Regions from separate parts of the Homo sapiens genome. Here all the other regions are linked to region 3. The links are contacts of gene promoters, found by promoter capture Hi-C in blood cells and fetal thymus (Javierre and others, 2016). All regions are on one chromosome and are shown on one strand. The core of a region is centred on a gene start or on the middle of the fragment in contact, and the rest is flanking DNA. Distances in the headings are between cores, read along the strand shown.

The links. Contacts are between HindIII fragments. The CHiCAGO score rates a contact against its expected background, and 5 or more counts as called.
Region 1: a contact is called between a fragment that was not itself captured here and the fragment with the promoter of EED in region 3, in 15 of 17 cell types (non-activated CD4 T cells, activated CD4 T cells, naive CD8 T cells and 12 more). The highest score is 21.8, in non-activated CD4 T cells.
Region 2: a contact is called between a fragment that was not itself captured here and the fragment with the promoter of EED in region 3, in 2 of 17 cell types (non-activated CD4 T cells and naive CD4 T cells). The highest score is 6.3, in non-activated CD4 T cells.
Region 4: a fragment that was not itself captured here is called in contact with the fragment with the promoter of EED in region 3 in 3 of 17 cell types (activated CD4 T cells, total CD4 T cells and naive CD4 T cells); the score reaches 7.7 in activated CD4 T cells.
Region 5: a fragment that was not itself captured here is called in contact with the fragment with the promoter of EED in region 3 in 2 of 17 cell types (non-activated CD4 T cells and naive CD4 T cells); the score reaches 6.2 in non-activated CD4 T cells.

Annotation. Positions count from the first base shown.
Region 1 is chr11:85,601,784-85,604,483 of GRCh38, forward strand. All of the region lies in intron 2 of DLG2 (discs large MAGUK scaffold protein 2), which reads right to left. Among named protein-coding and RNA genes, the nearest start is that of DLG2, 24 kb to the right of the region's middle. The HindIII fragment of the contact is 478 bases long and covers 1,180-1,657 here.
Region 2 is chr11:87,033,593-87,036,337 of GRCh38, forward strand. All of the region lies in intron 1 of LOC105369422 (a long non-coding RNA gene), which reads right to left. Among named protein-coding and RNA genes, the nearest start is that of TMEM135, 3.0 kb to the right of the region's middle. The HindIII fragment of the contact is 2,330 bases long and covers 239-2,568 here.
Region 3 is chr11:86,243,306-86,246,033 of GRCh38, forward strand. It overlaps EED (embryonic ectoderm development), which reads left to right and starts at 1,448. Exons shown (of 12, transcript NM_003797.5): 1 at 1,448-2,038. The coding sequence starts at 1,925. RefSeq lists enhancers at 901-1,431, 1,432-1,960. The HindIII fragment of the contact is 4,943 bases long and covers 1-2,728 here.
Region 4 is chr11:85,712,341-85,715,040 of GRCh38, forward strand. It overlaps SYTL2 (synaptotagmin like 2), which reads right to left. Exons shown (of 20, transcript NM_206927.4): 12 at 2,073-2,167. Among named protein-coding and RNA genes, the nearest start is that of CCDC89, 27 kb to the left of the region's middle. The HindIII fragment of the contact is 487 bases long and covers 1,183-1,669 here.
Region 5 is chr11:85,585,887-85,588,586 of GRCh38, forward strand. All of the region lies in intron 3 of DLG2 (discs large MAGUK scaffold protein 2), which reads right to left. Among named protein-coding and RNA genes, the nearest start is that of DLG2, 40 kb to the right of the region's middle. The HindIII fragment of the contact is 4,371 bases long and covers 1-2,700 here.

The DNA.
Region 1 (2,700 bases), core at 169-2,668, 640 kb before region 3:
GCCCTTTCTCAATCACATTTATTAGTTCCCTCTAATTTCTCAATGAGGGCTTAAGATGTTTAGAATACCTCTGAACATGGTAAGACTTCTTTAATCTTACTCCCTGGATAATCTTACCCAGTTTCCTTGATAATCTTATCTAATTCCGTAGTTTTAAATATTACCAGCACCCTCAAGACTTCCGAATGTATATCTGTAGCTCAGAACTTTACTCTGAATTCCAGACTCATATCCAGCTGAATGCTCAACATTTCCATTTGGATGTCTAATAAGCATCTCAAACTTCACTTGTCAAAACTGAACTCCAGATCTTATCCACCCACCCTCAGTCTGCTTCTCCTCCAATGTATCTCCATCTTTCACCCTTCCAATTATTCAGACCCAAATTCCTGAAGTCAGCATTCATTCTTTTCTCTAATTCTCTACATCTATCCATCAGTAAATCCTGTGGGCTCCAACATCAAATTATATGCAGAATCCCATCACTTCTCCCTACCTCCAGTGCCACCACCCTGGCACAACCCATCATCATCTATCCCCTACATTACTGCAATGTTCTACTAGTTTACATGCTGTCACCTTTGCCCTCCTACAGTCTTTTCTCTTTTTTTTCTTTTTTCTTTCTGTCTTTGTTTGTTTGTTTTGTTTTTTGTTTTCTTTTAAGCAGGATCTCTCTCTGTCACCCAGATGGGAATGTAGTGGGGCAATCACTGCACATTTCAGCATCAGCCTCCCAGGCTCAAGTGATCCTCCCAAATCATTTTTTGAATTCTGATTTTTTTGTAGAGATGAGGTCTCACTATGTTGCCCAGGCTGGCCTACAGTCTTTTCTAAACCCAATAGCCAAAAATATCCTTTCAAGTCATCAACTAGATTATGTCATTCCTCAACTCAAACCCTCCAGTGTCTCCCCATCCCACTCAGAGCAAAGGCCCACCTCTCTGACTTCAGCTCTTAGACCTCTCCTCTTGCTCAATCTACTCCAACCACAGTATGCTGTTTCTCAAATATATCAAGAACTCTCCTATATCATGGCCTCTATACTTGTGATTCTGCCTATAACACTCTTCTCTCAGGTATCCATAAAGCTTGCTCCTTCACTTCTTTCATATCTCTGCTTATATATCATCTTAGTAGTAAGGCCTTCCCTAATACTCCTATATAACATAGCAAACTTCAAGCTTATCCCCTTGAAGGAAATGAGAATTTCAATTGGGCAATAAGAGATGGAGGAGGACATTGCGTAACTACTCCTCTTCTATCTAGTAAGATTAGAAATATAGAAATAAATGTGGATGAACAGAGAGCTCACTCCAATTTATATTAACAAAGAATGGTGATATAAATGTGTGCTAATATATTTGCATAAACTTTAATTTTTAAAAATGATTTCACACTTTACTTGCGTAATGTTTTAACAACTCTGAATCAAGGACAAATATTTTAATCCCCATTTTGTCAATAATTAAACAATCAGCAGTTTCCCCAAAATGATGGTGGCTCACTTTCTAACCCATCCCTACACACTATTTACAAATATAAATAGTTACTTTACTTACCACTGTAGGTGATCAACAATACAATAATTATACTATACCTCTCTCTCTACTTATATGTATCTGTGGGCTCTAATCACGTGATTACCTCTAGTGCCCAAAGCTTTAGTCTTTTTCATTTCCTCATTAAAGTCTGCCGACATTTTTCGGGAAACCTACAAGTGCTGAGCACCTTTTTCTTTTCTCTCTCTTTTTTTTTTTAATACAATTATAACTAAAGCCTTTTTTTTTAAGCTTCTGTGGCATTGTTGTAGGTATTACCCTAGTCGTTTATTCTTTTAAAGGGCAATTCTTGGCCAGGCACGGTGGCTCACACCTATAATTCCAGCACTTTGGGTGGCCAAGGTGGAAGGATGGCTTGAGACCGGGAGTTCGAGACCAGCCTGGGCAACAGAGCAAAACCCTTTCTCTACAACAAAATTTTAAAATTAGCCAGGTGTGGTGGTGCACGTCTGCACTCCCAGCTACTCAGAAGGCTGAGATGGGAGGATCATTTAAGCCCAGGAGTTCGAGGCTTCAGTGGGCCACCATCCTGCTACTGCACTCCAGCCTGGGCTACAGAGTGAGACCCTGTCTCTAAATAAATAAGTAAAATACCCTGTCTCTAAGTAAATAAGTAAAATTAAGAGCAATTCTCAAAAATGTATTAACAATATTCCCACAATCACATCTACAAATATAATTAGATAAGTAAGGGGAATTTCACTCACTCATTTAGCATATATTTATCCAATAACTATAAAGGGAAAATACTGTATTGATTCAAAACAGCTAGATGTTTTCTAAACCAGCAGAGCTTACTATGCCTCTCATCGCTGTAGGATAAAAATTTGACACATAAAAAATGCTAAAATATTTTTAAAAGGTCGTATATAATCAAGTCTCCAAGTTAGGCTTTCACACACCAGCATCTAGGGCTGGAATTGTGGCTGCCCTTTTATGCTGCTTTTGATTATTGAGAATGATCATCACCTGGAGTCAATTCTATTATGCTCTTCAACTCTCTCTACTCAAATCCTTATTTCTGGTTAATGAAAGTTTGAAGGTAATCTAAAAATGACAAATTAAACAAATGAGACAAATGGCAAGGATCTTTTCATACAAATTAAAAATCCCTAACCTAATCTCCATAAATTGAATAAAG
Region 2 (2,745 bases), core at 154-2,653, 790 kb after region 3:
CAGCCTGGACTACATGGTGAAACCCCGTCTCTACTAAAAATACAGAAATTAGCCGGGTGTGGTGGTGGGTGCCACTAATCTCAGCTAGTGAGGCAGAAGAATCACTTGAGCCCAGGAGGCGGAGTTTGCAGTGAGCCGAGATCGTCCCATTGCACTCCAGCTTGGGTGACACAGCAAGACTCCGTCTCAAAAGAAAAGAAAAGAAAAGAAAATCAGAATCATATGTAGCTTTGTGAAAAGCTTGGTTACTGACTGTTGCTGGAATCAAGAGCTACTACAGTGTCATACTTCGAGTTTGCCGTACTTTGCCATTGTACTTGTGCCTGATAATTATTTCTACAATGACTGCATGTAGATCTAAACTAGATTAGTGTCGTTAAATCCTCTGCATTAGATCTTAAGAGCTCTTCCATTCTTTTTCGTTGACATCTTCAAAACTAGAATCCTACAAGAGCAACAACTTTGTGTTTTTTTTTTTTTTTTCATTCTTCCATCACAAAGAAAGGGGCAACAATTTTCATCTTGGCGTTTCTTCAAAGCCTTTGAATTCCATCATAAATTGCCAGATTAGTTTTCTTCATCCACTGTGCACCTTCTTTGGAGAAACTCTTTGCTTCACCTTGTTGATGAACCCTAAAGCCCTCCCTGCGTTTTTTTAATGAAAAAGAAGAAACAATGAAGCCCCCAGAAAGTATCCAATCAAGCCACTGTCATAGCCAACCTAAAAGAATAAATGACCCATGCAGATGCAATGTTTAACATTATCTTTAAACTTAATGGTGGCATGAAGAGAAGGCTTTCTTTTAAAAAACAGCCTGCTATATCTTATAATACCATATAAAGAAATTTACAAATGTAAGCTACTGGTTTAACTGCATACTGCTCCATTTTGCAATTTTTTTTGCATCCTAAAGCACAGATCATCTCCCCTGAGGATTTATCAATGCCTTCCTGTTTTGGAATCTCCATAGCAGCACTAGAAAAGATAGAGTATCCTTTCTTTTGAACTTGGGAGTTTCCCTGAAATCACCCCTTTGCCACCCAGCTCATCAGCATTGTCCCCTTTGGCACCATCCCCTTTTTCTCAAATTTCTTTATGCTTCAAGTCTCCATTTAACAGTTAATTAGGACCAGGTGTGTTGGTGCACACCTGTAATCCCAGCAGTTTGGGAGGCTGAGGTGGGTGGACAGCTTGAGCCCAGGAGTTCAAGAGCAGTCTGGGTAACACAGGGAGACCCTACAAATAATTTAAAAACATTAGCCAGGTGTGGTGGCGTACCTGTGGTCCCAGCTACTCAGGAGGCTGAGGCAGGAGGATCTCCTGAGCCCAGGGGATATAGGCTGCTGTGAGCTGTGATTGCGCCACTGCACTTCAGCCTGGGTAGCAGAGTGAGACCATGTCTCAAAACAAACAAAAAACAGTTAACTAAAAGAAACCACCTGGTTTTAATTGTAATTTTAAAATTTCCTTATTTATTAATGTGTAATTGCTGGGCCACATAGTAAACATATTGTTTATTATCAGGCATGAAAACTATATTGTGCTATTACATTCAGAAGCAACTGAGAGTTAACAATCATATTAAAAATTTTTTTTTTTTTGAGACGGAGTCTTGTTCTGTTGCCCAGGCTGGAGTGTAGTGGCACCATCTCGGCTCACTGCAACCTCCGCCTCCCAGGTTCAAGTGATTCTCCTGCCTCAGCCTCCTGAGTAGCTGGGATTACAGGTGTCCACCACCATGTCTGGCTACTTTTTGTATTTTTAGTAGAGATGGAGTTTCACCATAGGCCAGGCTGGTCTTGAACTTATGACCTCAGGTGATCCACCAAGCTCAGCCTCCCAAAGTGTTGGGATTATAGGTATCAGCCACCGTGCCCAGCTCGTATTAATTGTTTGGTGAATAAGATGTTATTTGTATAGTATTGTACATCTTAACATGATCATTTTTTGTTAATATTTGATACTATGTTTTAAATACTTGTTAAGAATTTTTTGGTTGATATGTAATGCATTTTATTTTTTCCCATTTAAAACTAAGTTCCTATTCAGCATTTTCTTGTGAAAGGATCACAGATATTCAGGAATGGATTATTGAAAAAAAATAAGCCTGCACTGCTATTTCTGTAATTTTTTGGATAAGTTTATGCTGTGTTTTTGATCTTCTTAGTTTCTGAATTGGAGATTTGAAAAAAATTGTGATTATCTTGTTCCTATTCTACCATTGTATATTGGATGTGTTGAGGCGGATGATAACTTTATCATGAGATCTGCATCTGGTCCTGAGGAATATTCTGGACTTTGGCTAGGATTCAGCAACTGCATGGAATTTTAGGTTGTCTCCCTTGGAAAAGGGAAGGTATGTCTATCTGTAGAAAGAATGGTGTGCCCGGATATTTGGGTAGCCAGAGACATAGAACTATGGCAGACACTGCTAGTTGCCTCTAATATCTGTTTTTTCCATTTTGCTCAGTAATAAAACCTCAAATGTTAGCTGGGCATTTGTCCCATTAATTAAAAAAGATTGTATTCACCATCCTCTCTTGCAATGAAGTGTGGCCATGTGATTAAGCTTTGTCCAAGGAACGTAAGTTGTAGTAGTTTGTATGGATCTTCTGGGAAGTTTTTTTAAAAACAGGAAGTATGCCCTTTTCTCCCCGCCCCCGCCCCCCCGTTTTTTTTTTTTTTTTTTTTTTGAGATAGAGTCTCTCTCTGTTGCCAAGGCAACAGTGGTGTGATCTTGGCCC
Region 3 (2,728 bases), core at 198-2,697:
AAAGATGTTCTTAACAAAGGGAAGGATGTTTCTGTCTGCTGATGAAAATGTCATGCCAAAGCACGTCTTACTTTGTCAGGAGCTTACTCTACTCCAGTCTCATCTCTTCTCACCAACTGAGGAGTGCTTAGTAGTGCCTGGAACATTGGAAGTACTGAACAAATGACTGCCGTCATTGAGACCTCAACTTTAATTTTTTTTCGGCTTCTTTATTTCAAAGTCTTCACTGCAGAAACCTCTCATTCTGACCTGCCTTTGCTTTACTTCCTTTTCTCATTCTCAACCAAGAGTTCTCTCTTTATCTACAAAAGAAAGAGTGACTTGCAATCTGCAGATAAGGAAACTGATGTCCTGGTTATAAAGTTATCATGCAGAAATAATTCAAGTATACTAGAATTTTATGGATGGTGCACTCTAGGTGGGTAATGAGGTCTAGAAGAGAAAAGATATACAACATCAAGCAGGTGCCCAAGAAATGGTAGGTCCCTTTCTCCCTTCCTGCCTCCTCATTTTTACAGATGAGGACATTTTTACAGAAGCCCGAATAGATAAGTAGTCACAATCATGTTCTAAGAAAAACAAAAAAAAGGTGGCGGATGCCGTATTTTATTTTTCGTCATCACTCTCCTTTTCCTGCTGCTCATTCAGTTATGGTTTCATGACCCATATAATAATTCCACAAGGCTCACCAATGTTATCTGGCACCTGCTAGAGAATAGATATAGTAACAGAGGCAAATATTTTGGTGAAGTTTAACAGTTGTGTTGCCTTCTAGAATTTCATTGTATCTGATGTGCAAAAACAAGCAAAACATTGTCGGTTAAGTATCACAATCTCATAATGGAGATGAGCACTGATTCTTAGGCCTTGGCGTAGTTCAGGGCCTATCCTTTAGCAGCTAAAAAGAGCACTTTGGCTGTAACTCATTGGAGTCTAGTCTCATAATGTTAGGATATTTCTATTTAAGTCTTAACCACTATTGGTAGCAACTGGAAGGATAATCATTCATTACAATAAATAGTCAACAGAATAAATATCCGACAAGAATTTACGAAGCGTCTAGAGTATAATTCGGTAGCGCTTTGAAATCCACCCTGGGATTCGGAAACCGGGTAGAAAACTACCTGGTTCAGCAAACGAGAATTCAAACAGAGGAGGGGCTTGGAGGAGGCGGGTTTCGACGAACCCAGCGCAAGAGTACGCCACGGCGCCTGCGCATCCCCTGACGGGTACTTTCCATTCGCCAGATGGGGGAAGCCAGGGGGAAGCAGGTTACTGTTTTTGCATTTCTATCTTCAAGGAAGAATTAGGTTATGAATAGTTCCGTGAATAGTCAGGAAGCGCTGTCCTCCAAGTTCAAGATTAAGGAAACGTGGCATGCACAGCTAAAGCAAGAGGTGACGTCTTGTATCTTCCCCCGTTTCCTGGGACATTGGTGGTGTAGCCCATTCCACAGACTTTCGCTCCCTAGCAGCGGGTCGGAGATCGAAGGAACGGGCCAATTGCGGCTGAAACGTCTTTGGAAGGAGGAAGGGGGTGAGGGAGCATCCCTTTGAGTTTCGCCTCTTCTCGAGGCGGTGGTGGGAAGGGAGACATACTTAATACTGCCCTCTTAATCCAACGGACCTTACATCGTGTAGACTGCCGGGAGGGCGGCGGGAAAAGGGCAAGACGGGAGTTGGGGAAGGGAAGGAGCCAGGAAGCCGCGCGGGAGGGCGCGCGCGCGCGCCCCTTTTTCAGCAGTGTGGCGGGGTCGCACGCACGCCCGCCTCGGCGGCTGGGCGCGATTTGCGACAGTGGGGGGGGCGGTGGAGGTGGCGGCGGCAGCGGCAACTTTGCGGCAAGCTCGGGCCGGGCTTGCTTGACGGCGGTGTGGCGGAGGCCCCGCCCCAGGCGGCAGGAACCTGGAGGGAGGCGGAGGAATATGTCCGAGAGGGAAGTGTCGACTGCGCCGGCGGGAACAGACATGCCTGCGGCCAAGAAGCAGAAGCTGAGCAGTGACGAGAACAGCAATCCAGACCTCTCTGGAGACGAGAATGTAAGTGCAGCTTCTGGCAGTTACGAGACTGCGGAGTGAAAGTTTTAAATTCTTTTAAAACGGGGGGCGCGGGGACGAGCGGGCTGCTGTGGGGGGAGGGAGAGGTGTCACTCAGGAAAACGCGGGCGTGCGGGAGAAAATTGAAATTGCCTACGGGGATTTTGATGTGGGGCCGAGAGCAAGCAGGAACTAGGCAAAGGAGAGTGGTTCTAGTGATTGCGTGGGTCTGAGAAGTCTGCCCTGAAATCAGTTTGCATGTGATGGGGAGTGTTTTGGCCTTTGGGGGGATTTAAGGGGAGAGTGCGGGTCTGAGATTCTAGTAGTTTAAAAGGCACGTTAGAGACTTTTCTAAGAAAGTTGGAAGGACGGGGCAGAGTTAGGGACCCTGTTAAAGGAGCGTAAGGGTTGTCACTCTAAGACCCTTGTGGAATTTTCAGGATGGAAAGTGATCTTCGATTTGCGGAGTTTGGGAGACTTTATTAAAGGGGGTTTTGTGTCCGCCTCCGTCCTGTCCGCGGAGACCGGGTGCGCCTGAAGGTCGCCTTTTCTGTAGGAGGAGCCGAATTGAGAGGATCGATTTTTGATTTGGGGGTGGGGAGTGACTACCTTTGAGGAAGTAAGAGTGGGTGATTTCTTCTTTGAACGTTTTTACTTAAGATAAAGGTGAGGGGGGTGGCGACCTGGAAGATT
Region 4 (2,700 bases), core at 176-2,675, 530 kb before region 3:
TACTGCATTCTACCTAGTATATCAGATCATTAGTGAATTATTGGAAGGATAGGACTCTGCCTTGTTGATCTGGAATGGTGTTTTACATGTAACTGGCACTCAACAAATGTGACTGATGATAAGTCTCAAAGGGAACAGATGAGCAAGGCCTGATTGCATTTCCACTTTCTTTAATACCTAGTTCAACCCTATACCCCATGCAAAATGATAGAGCTTAATTCTGGCATCTCTGATACACAAACCCAGATGATTTGAACTCTCTTCTGTGTGGAGCTATGAGACAGCAGGTTAAAACTGAAGGAAGGAGAAAAATTAAAAACCAGGAACTTATATAATTTGCCTCGAAAATACATATACACACACACACACACACACACACACACACTTTTTTTTTCAATTAGAGTCTCACTCTATCGCCTAGGCTGGAGTGCAGTGGCACAATCTCGGCTCACTACAGCCTCTGCCTCCCGGGTTCAAGCAATTCCCCTGCCTTACCCTCTCAAGTAGCTGGGATTATAGACATGAGCCACCATGCCCGGCTAATTTTTTGAATTTTTAGTAGAGACAGGGTTTTGCTATGTTGGCCAGGCTGGTCTCAAACTCCTGGGCCTCAAGGGATCTGCCCGTCTCAGTTTCCCAAAGTGCCAGGATTACAGGCATAAGCTACCATGCCCGGCCTCATATTATTATATGGTTGAACTGCATGGCATGCCTACTGTTGGCTTCTAGCTAATGAATTACTTCCAAAGAATGAGTGATTCTTTCCAAAGGAAACTGTAACATGTGCTCTTAACCATAGGCAAGGGCTGAATATTTGCAGATACAGTTCATCAAAGGCCCAAGAATGGACAAAAGGATGCCCAGGCCAGTGACAGAATATAATTTATGTGTTGCCCAGAGCTTTCCTCAACATTCCATCTACTAAGAGAATTCTTGATAATGAAGCCTTTTATTTCACCGTTAGAAATCAGACCAAAACTACAAACAGTAGCAGCTAACATTTACCAGGTACTCATTATATGCCAAGCACTGTGCTATGTGTTTTCCCTGCATTATCCTACCGATACCCCACAACCTCACGTGGTAGGTGCAAGGAAACCAGACTCAGAGAAGGTACTGAATGTGTCCATGATCACACAGAAAATTAGTATCATAACCAGGACTAGGGATATCTGGCTCCAAAGCTTAGGCTCCTAACTACCTGACTGCAAGAACATGGAATCTTAATTAAGTCAAAGGACCTGAGTTAAAGTCCTAGATCTACTCTTCAGTAGCTATTGGATTTGGGGAAAGTTATTTAACCTCTCTGCGGCTCTTTCTTCATTTGTAAAATGAAGAAAATAGTCCTTACCACATATAGTTAGTAAGAGTGAGATGACAGAATGAGTATTAGGTACCTGGCACATATTAGGTACTCAATGAATAGTAAATTATAGTCATGTGCTTTCTTAAGACCGTACAGTATATAGTATAGTCATTAACAGCAGGCAACTTGGATCTGTGCTCCAGTCCTGGTTGAACCCCCTTCTAGCTGAGTGAGGTTAATCTCCCTTAGTCTCAGTTTCCTCACCTGTAATGTGTGGGGATAATGATGGTGCCTGCCTCCTAGGGTTGTTGAAGGATTAAATGATATATGTAAAGTGCCTGGCACCCAGTAAATACTCCTTAAAGCTTGATGTGTCATTGTTACTTTATTAACAAACACTTTCAAACTAGTCATGCTGCCTAAATTAAGTTTTCACAAATCAAGTCTACTCCAAACTACAGAGGAATAATCAGTTCATATACCTTCCTGGATTTCTTATTTTGTACTAACTTTGAAACAAAAGTCACATTCCCAAATCTATGCAATTTGACTTCACTAACCAAAAGGAGTTACTGTTTGAGTCAAATGAGATGTGCCTTTCCCTGTTCCAGGATGAACAACACTACTTCTATTGACTTGAAAGGCAAGGGCCAGTCCTTCTGACCTCTTTGATCTCTGCCACAGTGGAATACAAACACACCAACCTTGGCATAGCAATTCCAACCCTCTGTCTCCATTTTTCTGAAGGTACAAAAGACAAACTTGCCTCATCTTGGAGAAATGCTGGAACAGACTTGCTCATCCTTTTGAGTTTGTCAGGGTGAGAAAATGGATTATCAGGTTGTGTAGGCACTGTGGAAACTAAACAGCAGCATTTCCATTTCAAAATTATTCTTACAATTGTCAGAAAACATTAGACATTAAGTTGAAAACATACTTTTATTTAATCTATGAACAAACATGTTTTTGTAAAAAAGTTAAAGGCAGAGTAGTCCACATGCACAGGATCATGAGATTAGCAACATGCAGTTTTTATAAATTATATAGAGAGAGAACTAGCAAGGAGTTGAACCAAATACAAAACAAAGTTAATTTTAAAAACATTAGTTTTTATTGAACTGGAGCTGCACTTGAATCAAATTATACTGTCAGTGTGAATTGGTTTAGCTTATTTTTTCACAACAGAGCTTCAGACCACAAAGTCTGTACTTTATTGGTTCATCTCCTTGAGATATATCACTAACACACTGCAGGCTGAAAAACTATTTCATCTGGACAGTCAAGATTTTTGTACACAACTCAATAATAAAACTGTTCTGGTTGTTGAGTGTCTTAGAGTAGGTTTGTTTAGTGAGCATGAGGATTACTTTTCTGATAGTGTTTTACACTCAGAA
Region 5 (2,700 bases), core at 40-2,539, 660 kb before region 3:
TGTATATGTTTTTTGTAGTGACAGGGTTTTGCCATGTTGGCCAGGCTGATCTTGAACTCCTGACCTCATGATCCACCCTCTCAGCCTCTCAAAGTGCTGGGATTACAGGCGTGAGCCTCCACACCCAACCTGTATCACATTTATTGACTTGCAGATGTTAAACCATCCCTGCATCCTGGTATGAAAACCACTTGATTATGGTGTATGATCCATTTGATATGCTCTTAGATATTGTTAGCTAGTATTTTGTGGAGGATTTTTGCATCTATGTTCATCAGGGATATTGGTCTGTAGTTTTCTTTTTTTGTTATGTCCTTTCTGGGTTTTGGTAAATCCCAGAATGATTTAGGGAGGATTCCGTCTTTCTCTATCTTTTGGAATACTGTCAATAGGACTGGTACCAATTCTTTGAATGTCTGATAGAATTCAGCTGTGAGGCCATCTGGTCCTGGACTTTTTTTTGTTGGTAACTTTTTAATTACTCTTTCAATTTCGCTGCTTGTTATTGGTCTGTTCAGAGTTTCTATTTATTCCTGATTTAATCTAGAAGGGTTGTATATTTCTTGGAATTTATCCATCTCCTCTACATTTTCTAGTTTGTCCACATAATGGTGTTCAGAACAGTCTTGAATGATCTTTTGTATTTCCGTGGTATCAGTTGTAATAGCTCCCATTTCGTTTCTAATTGAGCTCATTTGGATCTTCTCTCTTCCTTTCTTGGTTAGTCTCACAGTCTATCAATTTTGTTTATCTTTCAAATAACCAGGTTTTGTTTCATTTCTCTTTTGTATTTTTTTGTTTTGATTTCATTTGGTTCTGCTCTGATCTTTGTTACTTATTTTTTCTGTTAGGTTTGGGTTGGTTTTTCTTTGTTTCTCTAGTTCCTTCAGGTGTGACTTTAGATTGCCTATTTATGCTCTTTCAGACTTTTTGATGTAAGCATTTAATGCTATGAACTTTCCTCATAGCACTGCTTTTGCTGTGTCCCAGAGGTTTTGACAAGCTGTGTCACTACTATTGTTCAGTTCAAAGAATTTTTTAATTTCCATCTTGATTTCATTGTTGACCTAAAGATCATTCAGGGGCAGATTATTGAATTTCCAAGTATTTGTATAGTTTTGAGGGTTCCTTTTGGAGTTAATTTCCAATTTTATTTCACTGTGGTCTGAGAGGGTACTTGATATTATTTTGATTTTCTTAAATTAATATTGAGACTTGTTTTGTGGCCTATCCTATGGTCTATCTTGGAGAATGTTCCATGTGCTGATGAGTAGAATGTATATTCTGCGGTTTTGGGGTAGAATGTTCTGTAAATATTTGTTAAGTCCATTTGTTCTGGGTATAGTTTAAATCCATTGTTTCCTTGTTGACTTTCTGTCTTGATGACCTCTCTAGTGCTGTCAGTGAAGCATTGAAGTCCCCCACTATTATTGTGTTGCCATCTATCTCATTTCTTAGGTCTAGTAATAATTATTTTATAAATTTGGGAGCTCCAGTGTTGGGTGCATATATATTTAGGATTATGATATTTTCTTGTTGGATGGATCTTTTTATCATTACATAATGTCTCCCTTTGTCTTTTTCAACTGTTGTTGTTTTAAAGTCTGTTTTGTCTGATATAAGAATAGCTACTCCTGCTCACTTTTGGTTTCCATTTTCATGGGGTATCTTTTTCCACCCCATTACCTTAAGTGAGTTCTTATGCGTTAAGTGAATCTCTTGAAGAGAGCAGATACTTGGTGGGTGGATTTTTATCCATGCTGCCATTCTGTATTTTTTAAGTGAGCATTTAGGTCATTTACATTCAACATAAGTACTGAGATGTGAGGTACTGTTTTATTCATCGTGCTAGCTGTTGCCTGAACATCTTGGGTTTTTTCTTTTTGTTAGTGTTTAATAGGCCCTGTGAGATTTACACTTTAACGAGGTTCTATTTTGGTGTATTTCGAGGTTTTGTTTCAGGATTTAGATCTCGTTTTAGCATTTCTTGTGGTGCTGACTTGGTAGTGATGAATTCACTCAACATTTGTTTGTCTGAAAGATGACCTTATCTCTCCTTCATTTATGAAGCTCAGTTTTGCTGGATACAAAATTCTTGGCTGAAATATACTGTGTTTGAGGAGGCTAAGGATAGACCCCAATTCACTTCTGGCTTATAGGGTTTCTGCTGAGAAATCTGCTGTTAATCTGATAGGTTTTCCTTTATAGGTTACCTGATGCTTTCGCCTCACAGCTCTTGAGATTCTTTCCTTTGTTCTTGACTTTATATAACCTGATGACAACTATGTGACTGGGTAATGATCTTTTTGTGATGAATTTACCAGGTGTTTTTTGAGCTTCTTGTATTTGGATGTTTAGTTCTCTGGTGAGGCCAGGCAAGGTTTCCTCAATTATGTTTCCCAAACTTTTAGATTTATCTTCTTCCTCAGGAACACCAATTATTCTTGGGTTTGGTTAACATAATCACAAATTTCTTGGAGGCTTTGTTCATTTTTTTTTCTTTGTCTTTTTTGGATTAGGTTACTTCGAAAGCCTTGTCTTCAAGCTCTGACATTCTTTTTCCTACTCATTCAACATCATTGTTGAAACTTTCTGGTGCATTTTGTATTTCTCTAAGCGTGTCTTTCACTTCCAGAAGTTGTGATTGTTTTTTCTTTACAATATCTATTTCTCTGTAGCATTTTTCATCCATATCCTGTA